Regions from separate parts of the Homo sapiens genome. Here region 2 is linked to region 1. Evidence: promoter capture Hi-C in human tissues and cell types (Jung and others, 2019). All regions are on one chromosome and are shown on one strand. The core of a region is centred on a gene start or on the middle of the fragment in contact, and the rest is flanking DNA. Distances in the headings are between cores, read along the strand shown.

Evidence for each region. Contacts are between HindIII fragments. The study calls those that stand out against the background at their distance.
Region 2: a fragment that was not itself captured here is called in contact with the fragment with the promoter of HECTD4 in region 1 in 3 of the 25 tissues and cell types used here (IMR-90 fibroblasts, dorsolateral prefrontal cortex and lymphoblastoid cells).

What each region holds. Positions count from the first base shown.
Region 1 is chr12:112,377,711-112,384,926 of GRCh38, forward strand. HECTD4 (HECT domain E3 ubiquitin protein ligase 4) reads right to left here and starts at 4,721. Exons shown (of 76, transcript NM_001388303.1): 1 at 4,242-4,721. The coding sequence starts at 4,418. RefSeq lists enhancers at 2,679-3,179, 4,365-4,864 and silencers at 3,872-4,361, 4,372-4,641, 4,752-5,041. The HindIII fragment of the contact is 28,101 bases long and covers 1-7,216 here.
Region 2 is chr12:112,184,001-112,190,836 of GRCh38, forward strand. HECTD4 (HECT domain E3 ubiquitin protein ligase 4) reads right to left here. Exons shown (of 76, transcript NM_001388303.1): 60 at 6,786-6,836; 61 at 187-1,493. Among named protein-coding and RNA genes, the nearest start is that of MIR6861, 24 kb to the left of the region's middle. RefSeq lists enhancers at 1-562, 563-1,132. The HindIII fragment of the contact is 8,527 bases long and covers 1-6,836 here.

The sequences.
Region 1 (7,216 bases), core at 3,471-5,970:
AAATACAAAATTAGCTGGGCATGGTGGCACATGCCTGTAATCCCAGCTAACTGGAAGGCTGAGGTAGAAGAATTGCTTGAACCCGTGAGGTGGAGGTTGCAGTGAGCCGAGATCGCATCACTGCACTCCAGCCTGGGTAACAAGAATAAAACTCGGTCTCAAAAAAGAAAGAAAGAAAGAAAGAAAAAGAATTTACTGGGAAGAAAAATTTTAATTCAAATACTCTGGATCTGCTTAAATTAAAATACTAAATTCATGTTGATCTACTTCTTAGGAGGGATTCTTTCTTTAGATTGACTTTGAGCAGCGCTTACAGGGTGAACAGAACACTGGAATCCAAAGGTAGAAAAGCTAGGGTCTAGTCATTGCCCTGCCACAACTAGCTATGCTATAGTGACTAAGTCATAACCTCATCTTCTGATCACTGAGATCTCCTGATCTCAGAGAACTTCTTTCTAAAATGAGGGACATTATTATCTCTAAAGTCTCTTCTGCTCTAAAATTCTAAGACTCTTTTTTTCTTTTTTTGACGGAGTCTCGCTATGTTGCCCAGGCTGGAGTGCAGTGACGCGATCTCAGCTCACTGCAAGCTCCGCCTCCCGGGTTCACACCATTCTCCTGCCTCAGCCTCCCGAGTAGCTGGGACTACAAGCGCCCGCCACCACGCCCGGCTAATTTTTTGTATTTTTTTTTTTAGTAGAGACGGGGTTTCACTGTGTTAGCCAGGATGGTCTCAATCTCCTGACCTTGTGATTCGCCCGTCTTGGTCTCCCAAATTGCTGGGATTACAGGCATGAGCCACTGCGACCGGCGTAAAATTCTAAGACGTCTATTGCACTCTTCTGCAGTAAGGTTGCCAGTCATAATTAGTCAACTTGAGTCCCGTTCCTCATAATCCGAAAGTGTTAACTGAAGGATTCTATATATTATAAAACTCTGTGGAAAATGGCCATTATTCACCCAGATGTCCACTGGAAGGAGAGGCTTGAAACACTGTATTTCATAGGTGTGGTGGTATTTCAAAAGATAGCTTTTAAAAAATTAATAAACCGGCCAGACGCTGTGGCTCACGCCTGTAATCCCAGAACTTTGGGAGGCCGAGGCGGGAGGATCACAAGGTCAGGAGATTGAGACCATCCTGGCTAACATGGTGAAACCCCGTCTCTACTAAAAATACAAAAATTAGCTGGGTGTGGCGGCATGCGCCTGTAGTCCCAGCTGCTGGGGAGGCTGAGGCAGGAGAATGGTGTGAACCCAGGAGGCGGAGCTTGCAGTGAGCTGAGATTGTGCCACTGCACTCCAGCCTGGGCGACAGAGCAAGACTCCGTCTCAAAAAAAAAAACCAAAAATTAATAGACCACGAATCTTCCTCAAATATGAAAAAGAAACAGTTACTAAAAGAAAATAGAGATTCTTCCTTCTGTAGCCAGTTATGAAATTTAAAATAATTGCAAATAAAAATACTATACATGCATGGAGGCAATAAAATATTATGATGAGGAGCAGATGTGCAGTGAACAGAACTAGGTTAACGTGCAAGCTCTTCATGTGCTCTTGAACAAGTCGAATACCTACTCTGCACTTCCTTCATCTGTACAATGAGTGCAATATTTCCAATTGTTAGGCTCTTTTGAGAATTTAATAAAATAATGCCTGACATGTAGGATACATTTAATCAATATTATTAAGTAATTAAATATGTGCTGGGCATGGTGGCTCATGCCTGTAATCCCAGCACTTTGGGAGGCCAAGGCAGGCGGATCACCTGAGGTCAGGAGTTCGAGACTTGCCTGGCCAACATGGCAAAACCTTGTCTCTACTAAAAATACAAAAATTAGCCCGGCATGGTGGTGTATGCCTGTAATCCCAGCTACTTGGGAGGCTGAGGCAGGAAAATTGCCTCAACCCGGGAGGTGGAGGTTGCAGTGAGCTGAGATGGAGCCACTGCACTCTAGCCTGGGCAACAGAGAGAGACCCTGTCTCAAAATAAAAAATAAAAAGATTTTTTATATATATATATATATATGTGAATACACCCACACAAACACAAATCTAATAGCCACAAAAACATTCTTAGCTATCTATTTCTCCTGATACCATGGAGCCTGTATAACATGGAAAGAATGAAACAAGTTATTCACTACTACCAGTCATAAATGTTTATCACCCATACACATACTAGTTGCTGAGAAATCAGACCATAAATTTAAAAAGCAATTAAAAAAAAAAATCTAGCAGGCCAGAGAGGTTCTTTCCTTTGAAAACCATTCTTCTGTGGAAATAGCTGACAAATTCACGCAATACATTTATAAACATTTTAGGAAAACCAACATCACAGATATTTTAACTAATCCTACTCTTTCTAATCCTAAAAATAAACTACATAAATGACATATATGTATAAATTTTGGTTCTGTGAACTTGGATTAGTCTTTAAGAAACAAAGAGCATAGGCACGGCATAGTGGCTCACGCCTGTAATCTCAGCACTTTGGGAAGCCAAGGCAGGCAGATCACTTGAGGTCAGGAGTTCGAGACCAGCCTGGCCAACATGGTGAAACCCTGTCTCTACTAAAAATACAAAAATTAGCCAGGCATGGTGGCGCGTGCCTGTAATCCCAGCAACTCGGGAGGCAGAGGCAGGAGAATCGTTTGAATCCGGGAGGCAGAGGCTGCAGTGGGCTGAGATCGCGCCACTGCACTCCAGCCTGGGCGACAGAGCAAGACTCGGTCTCGGGGGAAAAAAAAGAAAAGAAAGAAACAAAGAGCATCCACTTTCCACCTTTCACACACAACACAGCCAATTAAATCAAAAGATTCCACTATCATAGCATAATACCCCTTGAGTTTTCAGGCAGATAAGACACTCAGACACACCTTGCTTGTTATAGAACAGGCCCAAATGAGACACAATAAAACGATGATTCCATGTTAGGAATTCCCTACCAACCATATCCTCCTCTTTTTGGTGACTAGATTGTAAAATAAGTCAATTAAGAGTTCATAACGGAAGTGCTGAAGCAACCGCAAATCCAGACACAAAAATACAGTGGAACGTATTCGCATCTCAAGCACGTCCAAATGTCTCGGCCAATGTGATCCGATCACTGCCGTTTCCAGAAACACACAGTAATGGCTTTTAATTCATTTCTATAAATGTTCGTTGTGCGTAAAGCCAAACTGCACGCAAAACCGCAAAACACAAAAGATCCCTCGCATGCCGTTTATAGCCAGAAGATAGGCCATCCTCTCTGCGCCCTACCCCAGAAAGCTCTCCTTACGGCAGTAAAAATTTGATGACACCCCATGCTACCTACACATCAAAATGTCATCCCACAAAGTGGAAGGGGAGCAGTGTCAGCATCCGTTGGCCTCCATGAAACGACACTGCCAGTATTCCCACCTCTAGGCAAACACGAACCCAAGTGAAGTCGATGGAAAGTTCCCACCAACCAGGCATATTTGGTTCCCTTCTGCCCCCAAGGCCAAGCAGCTCAACTGATGAGATCTGCTGTTGCACCTGCCACGGCTCTGAACCCGGGATGCTTGGCGACCCCCGGGGCACACAAAAAGGCCCTGCGGCCTAACGCGCCAGTGACCCTTCCCCGAGAGTGCATGGAGGGCCGCTGGAGCATCCCTCTCGCTGTCCACAGCGCCCGCTTCCCTGACAAAGGCCCCGTGTCAATCCATCCGAGACACAACACAGAGAAGTTGCTGGATTGCCCATCGCGGACCCGCAGCTGCCACTACCCTCTCCCGGAAAAAAACCAAACCAAACCAAACAAAAAAAACAGAACTAGGGAAGAAAAGGATGGGAGGGTACACAGCGTGAAAATCAAAATGTTCCCAAAGCTAAGCAACCTGGGTGTGCCCTGGAAGTGGGTCCTGGGGGCCCGTGGGGGAGGGGAGGGAGGGCCCGGGTGGTGGCGGTGGCTCCTCTGGGGCATGAAGGCCGAGCCAGGCGCTAGCCTAATAAAATGCCGGGTGTCGGAACGCTCAAAAGAAAACCACAAATGAAATCCCCTGCGGGCGCCAGGCCCCGAGGAGGGAGGGAGGGAGAGCGGGGCGGGCGGTCCGCAGACCTGCGGCCGCGGCCCCACCTGCCCGCCCCGCGCCCACACACACCTGCCCCGGCAGCCGCCGGGAGGCGAGGCCGCGGCTGAGGCGAGGAGGGGGCCCGACCCGGGGGTGCCGGGCGAGTGGGTCAGTCCGATGGCGGGGGCCGGGGGCCGCCTCGCTCACCTCCAGGTCGGTGTCCGCGGCCTCTGGGGCCCCGAGGATCTCGCTGGGCAGCTCGGCCAGGTCGGTGACCCGGATCAGCCCGTCGTGCAGGAAGATGGTCTCTTCCTTCACCGAGAGCCACTGCGCCGAGTCAGCGGCCGCCGCCGCCGCCGCCGCCGCGGCCGCCGACGAGCCCATGGCCCCGGCTGAAGGCTTGGCGCTGAGGAGCAGACGCCCGGCCGGGGGAAACGGAGCAGGAGCCGCCGCGATCACCAGTCCATGGCAGCGGCCGCCGCGCCCGCCAGCGGCGCCCCACTTGCTGCCTCGCCCGTGCAACTCCGCCCTAGGCGGTCCGAGTCGCCATACCCCCGACCCCGGCCCGGGAGACCCCGGCCCTGCCGCCGCCGCCGCCGCCGCCGCCGCCGCCGCCCTCAGGAGCAGGATCCGCCTCTGCCGCTCGGCAACCAACTGTCAGTGAGACGCCATGTTGGGGGCGGGGCTCCCGGCATGCCTCGCGGAGCGGACAATACAGGCCCCGCCCGCCGCTCCGCCCACCGCTCCGCGGACGAGGCCACCCGGGTGGCCTGGACGTCCGCCTAGCCCTTCGCTGCCGCCTGCCCTCGGCCTGACCTCCGCCGGCCCCTTCTCCCCCTGGCCATTCAGGGTAGCCCTGGCTTTGCAGCGCGCCAGGGAAGAGGACGCCGCTTCCCCCGTCCTGTCCCTACTCAGGTGTGCACCCCTTGCTCGGGCCCGCGCCCCCACCCTGGGCAGAGCATAGAGATCACTCCTTGTTTTCACGTTTAAATGAGATGCAAGCAAAAGGCTGGCGCAGAATAGGCGCTGCACACTTGTTCATAAGCACTTGGTAGAATCACATAGTAGATGATTAATATTGACTGAAAAGTCTAGTACCCAGTAAGCACTCAAAACCTGGTGAAAATAAAGCGTCTGTCCACAATGCTTGGTGCTCAATGCCCGACACTTAATATGTGCTCCATGAGTGGCAATTCTAATTATTGCTATGTTCGTTCCATCAGTGTTCCACACTAATTGACATACACCTTAAAAATATGCTCACTAGGCCGGGTGCGGTGGCTCACACCTGTAATCCCAGCACGGAGGTCAAGGCAGAAGGACTGCTTGAGCCCAGAAGTTTGAGGCCAGCCTGGGCAACATAGGGAGACCCCATCTCTACAAAAAATAAAAATTAGCGGGGCAGGGTGGCAAGCGTCTGTAGTCCTGCTACTCGGGAGGCTGAGGCAAGAGGATCTCTTGAACTCAGGAGGTGGAGGCTGCAGTGAGCTATTATCTTGCCACTGCACTCCAGCCCGGGCGACAGAGGGAGACCCCATCCCTCCCTCCCCACCAAAAATATATATATGCCCACCAGTGCCATTTTATAAAAACAAGAAAGGAAAACTATATGTATAAAGAACAATGCATGAACAAATACACACCAGATGTTTAAGGTGAGTTGCCATGGGAGTGTGGGGCTGGTCTGGAACTACTGAGATGAGATTGTTCTCTATTACTTGTATATTTTTATCACTTAAAAAATAATAAAACAGGCCGGGCACAGTGGCTTACACCTGTAATCCCAGCACTTTGGGAGGCCAAGGTGGGCAGATCACCTGAGGTCAGGAGTTCGAGACCAGCCTGGTCAACATGATGAAACCCTGTCTCTGCTAAAAAAAATACACAAATTAGCCAGGAATGGTTGCACATGCCTGTAGTCCCAGATACTCAGGAGGCTGAGGCAGGAGAATAGCTGGAACCCAGGAGGCGGAGGTTGCAGTGAGCCGAGATCATGCCACTGCACTCCAGCCTGGGCAACAGAGCAAGACTCCATCTCAATAATAATAATAATAATAATAATAACAATAACAATAACAGGAGAACATTAAGGTGCATACCCTTTGATCCAGCAATTCAACTTTGAGGAAGTTGTCTGAAGGAAATAATCAGACTCGTAGTCAAGGATGGATATACAGGGTTGTGTAGCTCAATATTGTTTACAAAAGGAAAAACTTATCAATCTAGATGTCCAACAATATGGGGCTGGTTAACTAAAATATGATATATCCATAAGATGGAATATTATGGCCGGGCACAGTGGCTCACGTGGGTAATCCCAACACTTTGGGAGGCCAAGGCTGGCAGATCTCTTGAGCCCAGAAGCTCGAGACCCCCTTGGGCAACATGACAAAACCCCGTCACTACAAAAAATACAAAAATTAGCCAGGCGTGGTGGTGCACACCCATAGTCCCAGCTACTCAGGAGGCTGAAGCAGGAAGATCGTTTGAGCCCAGAAGGCAGAAGTTGCAGTGATTCAGCTAAGATTATGCCACTGCACTCCAGCCTGGGCAACAGAGTAAGACCCTGTCTCAAAAAAGAAGAAAAGAAGAGGAAGAGGAGGAAGAAGAGAACAATAAATCCAGCAGTTCAGAGTTGATCAGAACCATGGAAACAATAAAACAGGCAAGTGTAATGGAATGGCCATTTCATCAAATCCTCCCAAATGTCTGAGAGGGGGAGTATTATTATTCCTACTTTCAGCTGGGAAGTCAAGACTCAGTTAGATACTTTGCTCAATGTCACAAAGCCAGTAAACATCAAAGCTCAGATGTAAACCCAGGTCTGTCCGATTTTACAACTTCAGCTTCCTTATTTTGACTGTAAGAAAACTCCTTCATTCCTTTTTTTTTTTTTTTTGAGACGGAGTCTTGCTCTGTTGCCCAGGCTGGAGTGCAATGGCATGATCTCGGCTCACTGCAACCTCTTGACTCACTGCAACCTCTGCCTCCTGGTTTCAAGTGATTCTCCTGCCTCAGCCTCCCGAGTAGCTGGGATTACAGGCGTGCACCACCATGCCTGGCTAATTTTTGTATTTTTAGTAGAGACGGGGTTTTACCATGTCGGTCAGGCTGGTCTCGAACTCCTGACCTCGTGATCTACCCGCCTCGGCCTCCCAAAGTGCTGGGATTACAGGTGTGAG
Region 2 (6,836 bases), core at 1,515-4,014, 200 kb before region 1:
GGGACTTGGTGTCACTCAGAGACGTTACCCCAAGCAGCCTCACTGTGCTCATTCCAAGGGCTGCCCCAGGGAGCCCCCAACCGCTCCACCATTACCTACTAGGAAATAACTTTGGAAGATTTAAAGAGGCTTGGGGGATTGAAATGGGTCATGATTTAGTGGTTGCAGAGGCTTGAAAGCTGTTACCTCCACGACTGCGAAGCCTTTGATGGGGCGGGCGGCGAGGGGCTGGTTGTCCAGGGAAGTGACTGTGTACATGGAGCCCATGTCCGACACCGAGGCCGTCTCTGCATTGTCCAGGGGCTCCCCCAGGCTGCCCAGGCTGCCCAGGCTGCCGGTGCTGCACAGGGAAATGTCCAGGCTTTCCTGGCTGGACACCGCGTGGGGCTCCAACAGGCCCGGAGGGATGGGCAGCTCGAGGCCGGCAGGCAGCGGATCCACAGAGAGGTCGCTGACGGTTTGGGAGATGCCCTGCGAGCTGCAGATGGAGGCCTGGCTGGTGGAGGCGGAGGCGCTGATGCTCATGGCGGGGGTCAGGCTGCTGGACGTGCTGACCTCCATGCTGTCTGTGCCGGGGAAGGCCAGTGTCTTCTCGGGCTCAACTTTCCCGTCCCCGCCCTCGGCCTTGTCTTTTGGCTTCTTGGTGTCTTCTTCCTGCAGCGGGATGTAGATCTCGTCTTTGAAGACCCCGCCGTGGGCGTTGCAGGCCTTGCGGATGGCGCCTCTGACTACGCCCTCGTCCAGGTGGGTGGGGATCCCGGAGATCACCAGCAAGCGGCTGTGGGCGGTGGGGCCCACCAGGGCCTGGCAGGCATCGGCGATGGCGTCACTCGTCACGCCCAGCCCCTGTGGGTCCTTCCTGGTGAGGTGGCGGAGGATGATGAGCAGGGTGAGTGCGCGGTGGAACCACAGCATGTCCTCGGGCTTGCTGCCTCCGATGCTGAGCACGGTGGGGTCCGAGTCCACGGTGCGGGAAGACTGGCGCTTGCCCGACGAGGAGGCCTTTTCCCGCTTCATCTTGACTTTTTTCCTCTTGGAGAGGAGGCTGGGACTCTGTGGGGTCTGTCCTGGGGAGGACGAGGAGGAGGAGGACGAGTCACTGAGATTTGGGGCGGTCGCTGAGGTCACCCCACTGGCTGTGACACTCATGTTAGTAGGCAGGGTCACTTCGGCCACAGCCAGGCACCCTTCCATGAGTGCATGAAAATACGTAGAGAACCTGCCCTGGTCACCGGCCGCCGCCCCCCCGGAGCCCCCGCAGGCGCCGCCTGAGACCCAGTTCTGCGTCTCCTCGTCGTACAGCTTGTGGAGCTCCGACTGCAAGGCCATCAGCATGGCCAGGCAGGGGTTCAGCTGGAGGGCGATTGAGGAGGACAGGCCAGCGGGGTGCCGCCTCTGCTCCAGGGTGTGCACCGTGCGCAGGAGCTCTGCCAGGAGATGGAAAACAAGCTCCTTCACGCAGGCTGCCATGTCCGTGGTCCACAAGAAGTTTCCTGAGGCAAATGAAAATAGTAACAGTAATTACTATGCAGCACTGGCTATGTTCCAGGCGCAGTTCTGAGCCTGGAATCAACCCTCATAACAACCCTGTGAACACTGACTGCGCAATTCAGTCCCTTCTTACAGATGGAGAAACAGAGGTTGGGAGGTGGAGGCCTGGCTGGAAGGCACAACAGCTACCAGACAAGAGAGCTAAGATTCAGAGCTGACAGGTCAGCTCCAGAGGTGACGGCTTTGACCCTTGTGCCCAATGGCAGGGTGCCAGCAAAACACCATCATATTTTGTCTCAAAAGGTTATGCAGCATGTTGGTGATAAGTCCCTAGAATAATGTTTCCCAAAGTACTGGATGCTTACTATGGGGCACACAAGCCAATTTTACCAAACAGCACTGAAACACACACTGAAACACTGTTCCTTTTAAACTCCTCTTTTAGTCCTGATTTTTGCCAACAAGAAAGCCTTACTTTGAGGGTGGCATTATTTATTTTATTTTTCTTTTTTGAGACAGGGTCTTGCTCTGTCACCCAGGCTGAAGTGCAGTGGCACAATCATAGCTCACTGTTGCTCCTAGGCTCAAGTGATACCTCAGCCTCCTGAGTAGCTGGGATTACAGGAGTGTGAGACCATGCCCAGCTAATTTTTGTATTATTATTTTTCTTTTGCAGAGACAGTTTTCATGGTTTTGCCATGTTGCCCAGGCTGGTCTAGAACTCCTGGGCTCAAGCAATCCTCCCACCTCAGCCTCCCAAAGTGCTGGGTTTACAGGTGTGTGCCATTGTGCCTGGCCATGAGGCTGGCATATTCTTTTTTTTTTTTTTTTTTAATTATTTTTTTAATAATTTTTTTTTTTTTTGAGAGTGAGTCTTACTCTGGTACCCAGGCTGGAGTGCAGTGGCGTGATCTCAGCTCACTGCAACCTCTGACTCCTGGGTTCAAGCAATTCTCTGCCTCAGCCTCCCGCATAGCTGGGATTACAGGCTCCTACCAGCATGCCCAGTTAATTTTTGTATTTTTAGTAGAGATGGGGTTTCACCATCTTGGCCAGGCTGGTCTTGAACTCCTGACCTACCTCGTGATCCACCCGCCTCAGTCTCCCAAAGTACTGGGATTACAGGCATGAGCCACTGTGCCCGACCTTCTTTAGTAATTTTTTAAGCTGCTTTTTTTTTTTTTTTTTAAATTGAGACAGAGTCTGTCTCTTATCACCCAGGCTGGAGTGCAGTGGCGCGATCTCAGCTCACTGCAACCTCCGCCTCCCAGGTTCAAGCAATTCTCATGCTTCAGTGTCCAGAATAACTTGAATTACAGGCATGTGCCACCACACCCAGCTAATTTTTATATTTTTAGCAGAGATGGGGTATCGTCATGTTGGCCAGGCCGGTCTTGAACTTCTGGCCTCAAGTGGTCCGTGTGCCTCAGCCTCCCAAAGTGCTGGGATTACAGATGTGAGCCACTGTACCTGGCCAAGGCTGGCATATTCTTTTTTGTTTTTTTGAGATGGAGTTTCGCTCTTGTTGCCCAGGCTGGAGTGCAATGGCGTGATCTTGGCTCACCGCAACCTCCGCCTCCCAGGTTCAAGCAATTCTCCTGCCTCAGCCTCCCGAGTAGCTTGGATTACAGGCATGCACCACCACACCCGGCTAATTTTGTATTTTTTGTAGAGACAGGGTTCCTCCGTGTTGGTCAGGCTGGTCTCGAACTCCCGACCTCAGGTGATCTGCCCACAGCCTCCCAAAGTGCTGGGATTATAGGTGTGAGCCACTGCGCCTGGCCGGCTGGCATAGCCTTAAGAGAAAGTGGGCCAGAGTCCCAGAGCCTTTGACAGGGAACAGCATTCAGCTAGATTTTTGTGACGGCAACTATTTTCTTTGAATGTATGTATGTATGAATGGATGGATAGATGGACTGATTGATTGATTGAGACAGGGTCTCATTGTGTTGTCCTGGCTGGTCTTGAACTCCTGGGCTCAAGCCATCCTTTTGCCTCAGCCTCCCAAAGTGCTGGGATTACAGGCGTGAGACACCAGGCCCGGCCTGTATTTATTTTTATGGGTACCTGTTAGTTATGCCAATGGATACTAATTTTGTATTTAAAGAAGTGATGTAAAGGTTTCCTTTCCTTTTTTTTTTTTTTTTTTTTTTGAGACGGAGTCCCACTCTGTCGCCCAGGCTGGAGTGCCGTGGTGCCATCTCGGCTCACTGTAAGCTCCGCCTCCTGGGTTCACACCATTCTCTTGCCTCAGCCTCCCAAGTAGCTGGGACCACAGGCGCCCGCTATCACACCCGGCTAATTTTTTGTATTTTTAGTAGAGACACGGTTTCACTGTGTTAGCCAGGATGGTCTTGATCTCCTGACCTCGTGATCCGCCCGCCTTGGCCTCCCAAAGTGCTGGGATTACAGGCATGAGCCACTGTGCCCAGCCAAGGTTTCCTTAAAACTAAATTTAAGTTTTAAAAAAGGAGGAGTTGATTGCAATAAAAACTGTTAAATATATGCATGCTGGCTGGGCTCAGTGGTTCATGCCTGTAATCCCAGTACTATGGGAGGCCAAGGCAGGTGGGTCACCTGAGGTCAGGAGACTGAGACCAGCCTGGCTAACATGGTGAAATCCTGTTTCTACTAAAAATACAAAAAAATTAGCTGGGCATGGTAGCGGGCGCCTGTATTCCCAACTACTCAGGAGGCTGGGGCAGGAGAATCACTTGAACCCAGGAGGTGGAAGTTGCAGTGAGCTGAGATCGCACCACTGCGCTCCAGCCTGGGTGACAGAGTGAGACTACATTTCAAAAAAATAAAATAAGTAAGTAAATAAATGCTGACAGGCACAATTTGTGGACATGGAAACAATCATATAATGGTGGCATGATAATGACTGAAGTTTGGGAAACACTGTCTAGAACCACAAGATGGACCACACGTTTGTGCCAAGGTCTCCTTCATACCAGAGGCATATCTTACATTCACATAGTCATGTACCCTGGATCTGAGTGGAAAGAGAGAAAGCTCATGTACGTGAGACACGATTAGGGATCATGAACATCTAAAGCCTGTGTCCCACTGAGCCAGCTGAGCCCTTACCCTGCAAAAGAGTGAACTGCAGTTTGCTACATCCAGATGGCTCTTGTACAGGATAAAAGATTACTGGCCGGGGGAATCCCAAGGGCCTGCTGAAGCTGACTTACTAAGTCCAGCACCTACCAAAGAGGGGATCAAGCTTCCTGCTCTCTCAGGACTGACACTGCTTGCGAATTCTGGTTGGAAACAAGTTTGTGACTGTCCTGGAACATGGGCTCTCATAGAACCTCCACAGAGGACAGGTGTCCTTGCTCCCCTCTCTGCTGGGGCACAGGGCTAGGCCCTCAGATGCCAGAACTATTCATGTCACCTCCGTTGTCCTTGCTCTACCATTTAGCATTCATGTAAGACGACCTTGGAGAGAATTCTTCACCAAAATTGCACATGACGGCCTATGCGCTGAAACTTATTCTCAGACAGTGTTCTCTGCTTACGTCCCCCCTATCCACTCCCTGGGTGTTTTTTATTTTTTGCAGAGAAAGGGTCTGGCTATGTTGCTCCATATCCTGAACTCAAGTGATCCTCTTGCCTCAGCCTCTCAAAGTGCTGGATCATAGGTGTGAACCACACTGCGCTTGGCCCTCCTAGGGTGTATGAAAGCATTTGACTTGGTTGCCAACATTTAAAAATTGAGAAATTCACATCAACATTTGGATTCCTGGATTTTCTTGAAATAAGAAATTACGGTTCCAGGCCGGGCGCAGTGGCTGATGTCTGTAATCCCAGCACTTTGGGAGGCCGAGGCGGGTGGATCACGAGGTCAGGAGATCGAGACTATCCTGGCTAACATGGTGAAACCCTGTCTCTACTAAAAATACAAAAAATTGGCCAGGCGTGGTGGTGGGCGCCTGTGGTCCTAGCTACTCTGGAGGCTGAGGCAGGAGAATGGCATGAACCCGGGAGGCGGACTTGCAGTGAGCTAAGATGGCGCTACTGCACTCCAGACTGGGCGACAGAGCGAGACTCCGTCTCAAAAAAAAAAAAAAAAAAAAAAAAAGAAAGAAATTACGGTTCTGGCAGAAGCAGGGCCATGTTCTCCTGCAGCAGTGGATGACAGGGCACGTGTCCTCTGTGCCTCCAGCTCACCAAAGTCCCCCTGCCAACTTTCCTCTTTATTTCCCTCATTTAGCTGATCTGTTTGAACCCTGAAGGCACTGAAGGCATCCGAGTGTGCAGTGTTTTCTGTTTTTTTGAGATGGAGTTTCGCTCTTGTTGCCCAGGCTGGAGTGCAATGGCGCAATCTTGGCTCACTGCAACCTCCGCCTCCTGGGTTCAAGCGATCCTCCTGCCTCAGCCTCCTGAGTAGCTGGGACTACAGGCATGCACCACCATGCCCGGCCAATTTTTTGTATTTAGTAGAGACAGGGTTTCATCATGTTGGTCAGGCTGGTCTCCATACTCCTGACCTCAGGTGATCAACCCGCCTTGGCCTCCCAAAGTGCTGGGATTACAGGCGTGAGCCACTGCGTCTGGCCCGAGTGTGCAATGTTTTCTTCCCTGCAACATTATGGAAAAATTCAAAAATATAGAAAGCCTGAAGAAATTATACAGTAAACACCTGTGCACTTACCAGCTAGATTCCACCATAAACATGTTGCTGTATTTCCTCTACTACATATCTGTCTACTCCTCTATTCATCCACAAACCCATCTTAGTTTTTGATTATTTCAAAATAAGTTGTAGACATCAGTATGCTTCATCCCTAAACACTTAAGGAGGCATATCATTAAAGTTTAATATTTATTTAGAATTTGTTTAGGTAAATTTGCATATGGTAAAATGCACAACTTTTACATTTATCATTCCATGAGTTTTGCAACCTTTTTGACCCTTTGAGGAACTATGCAGTTATAACCTTTGATTTTGCAACATTGTTCATTTCCACACCACCCTTCACCCCTAAAGTTACAATAATGGCATATACTTCTGTTTTAAAGTAAAGTGGATAAAGTTAATCTTATTTTCCTGGTTAGTTTCCAATCCTCAAAATAATGAAAATACCCAGCAAATCATGGATTTGGGAGTCTAGGTTGTACCTTAAGATCTATTCCCCAAGCCCACTTCAAATGACAGCAATCTGAAGGAGGCTGCAGCTGCCTGGGCTACCTGTGGCCACTCCCTACACCACCTGGCAAGCTCCTTCCTCAGGCACCATGCCAGCTCCACCCCCACCCTAGATTCCGATCCCCAGGGAAGGCAGCCTCACCTAGCAGCTCCACCACCTGCAGGAGGACGGATGTCGGAATGGTGTCAGGCT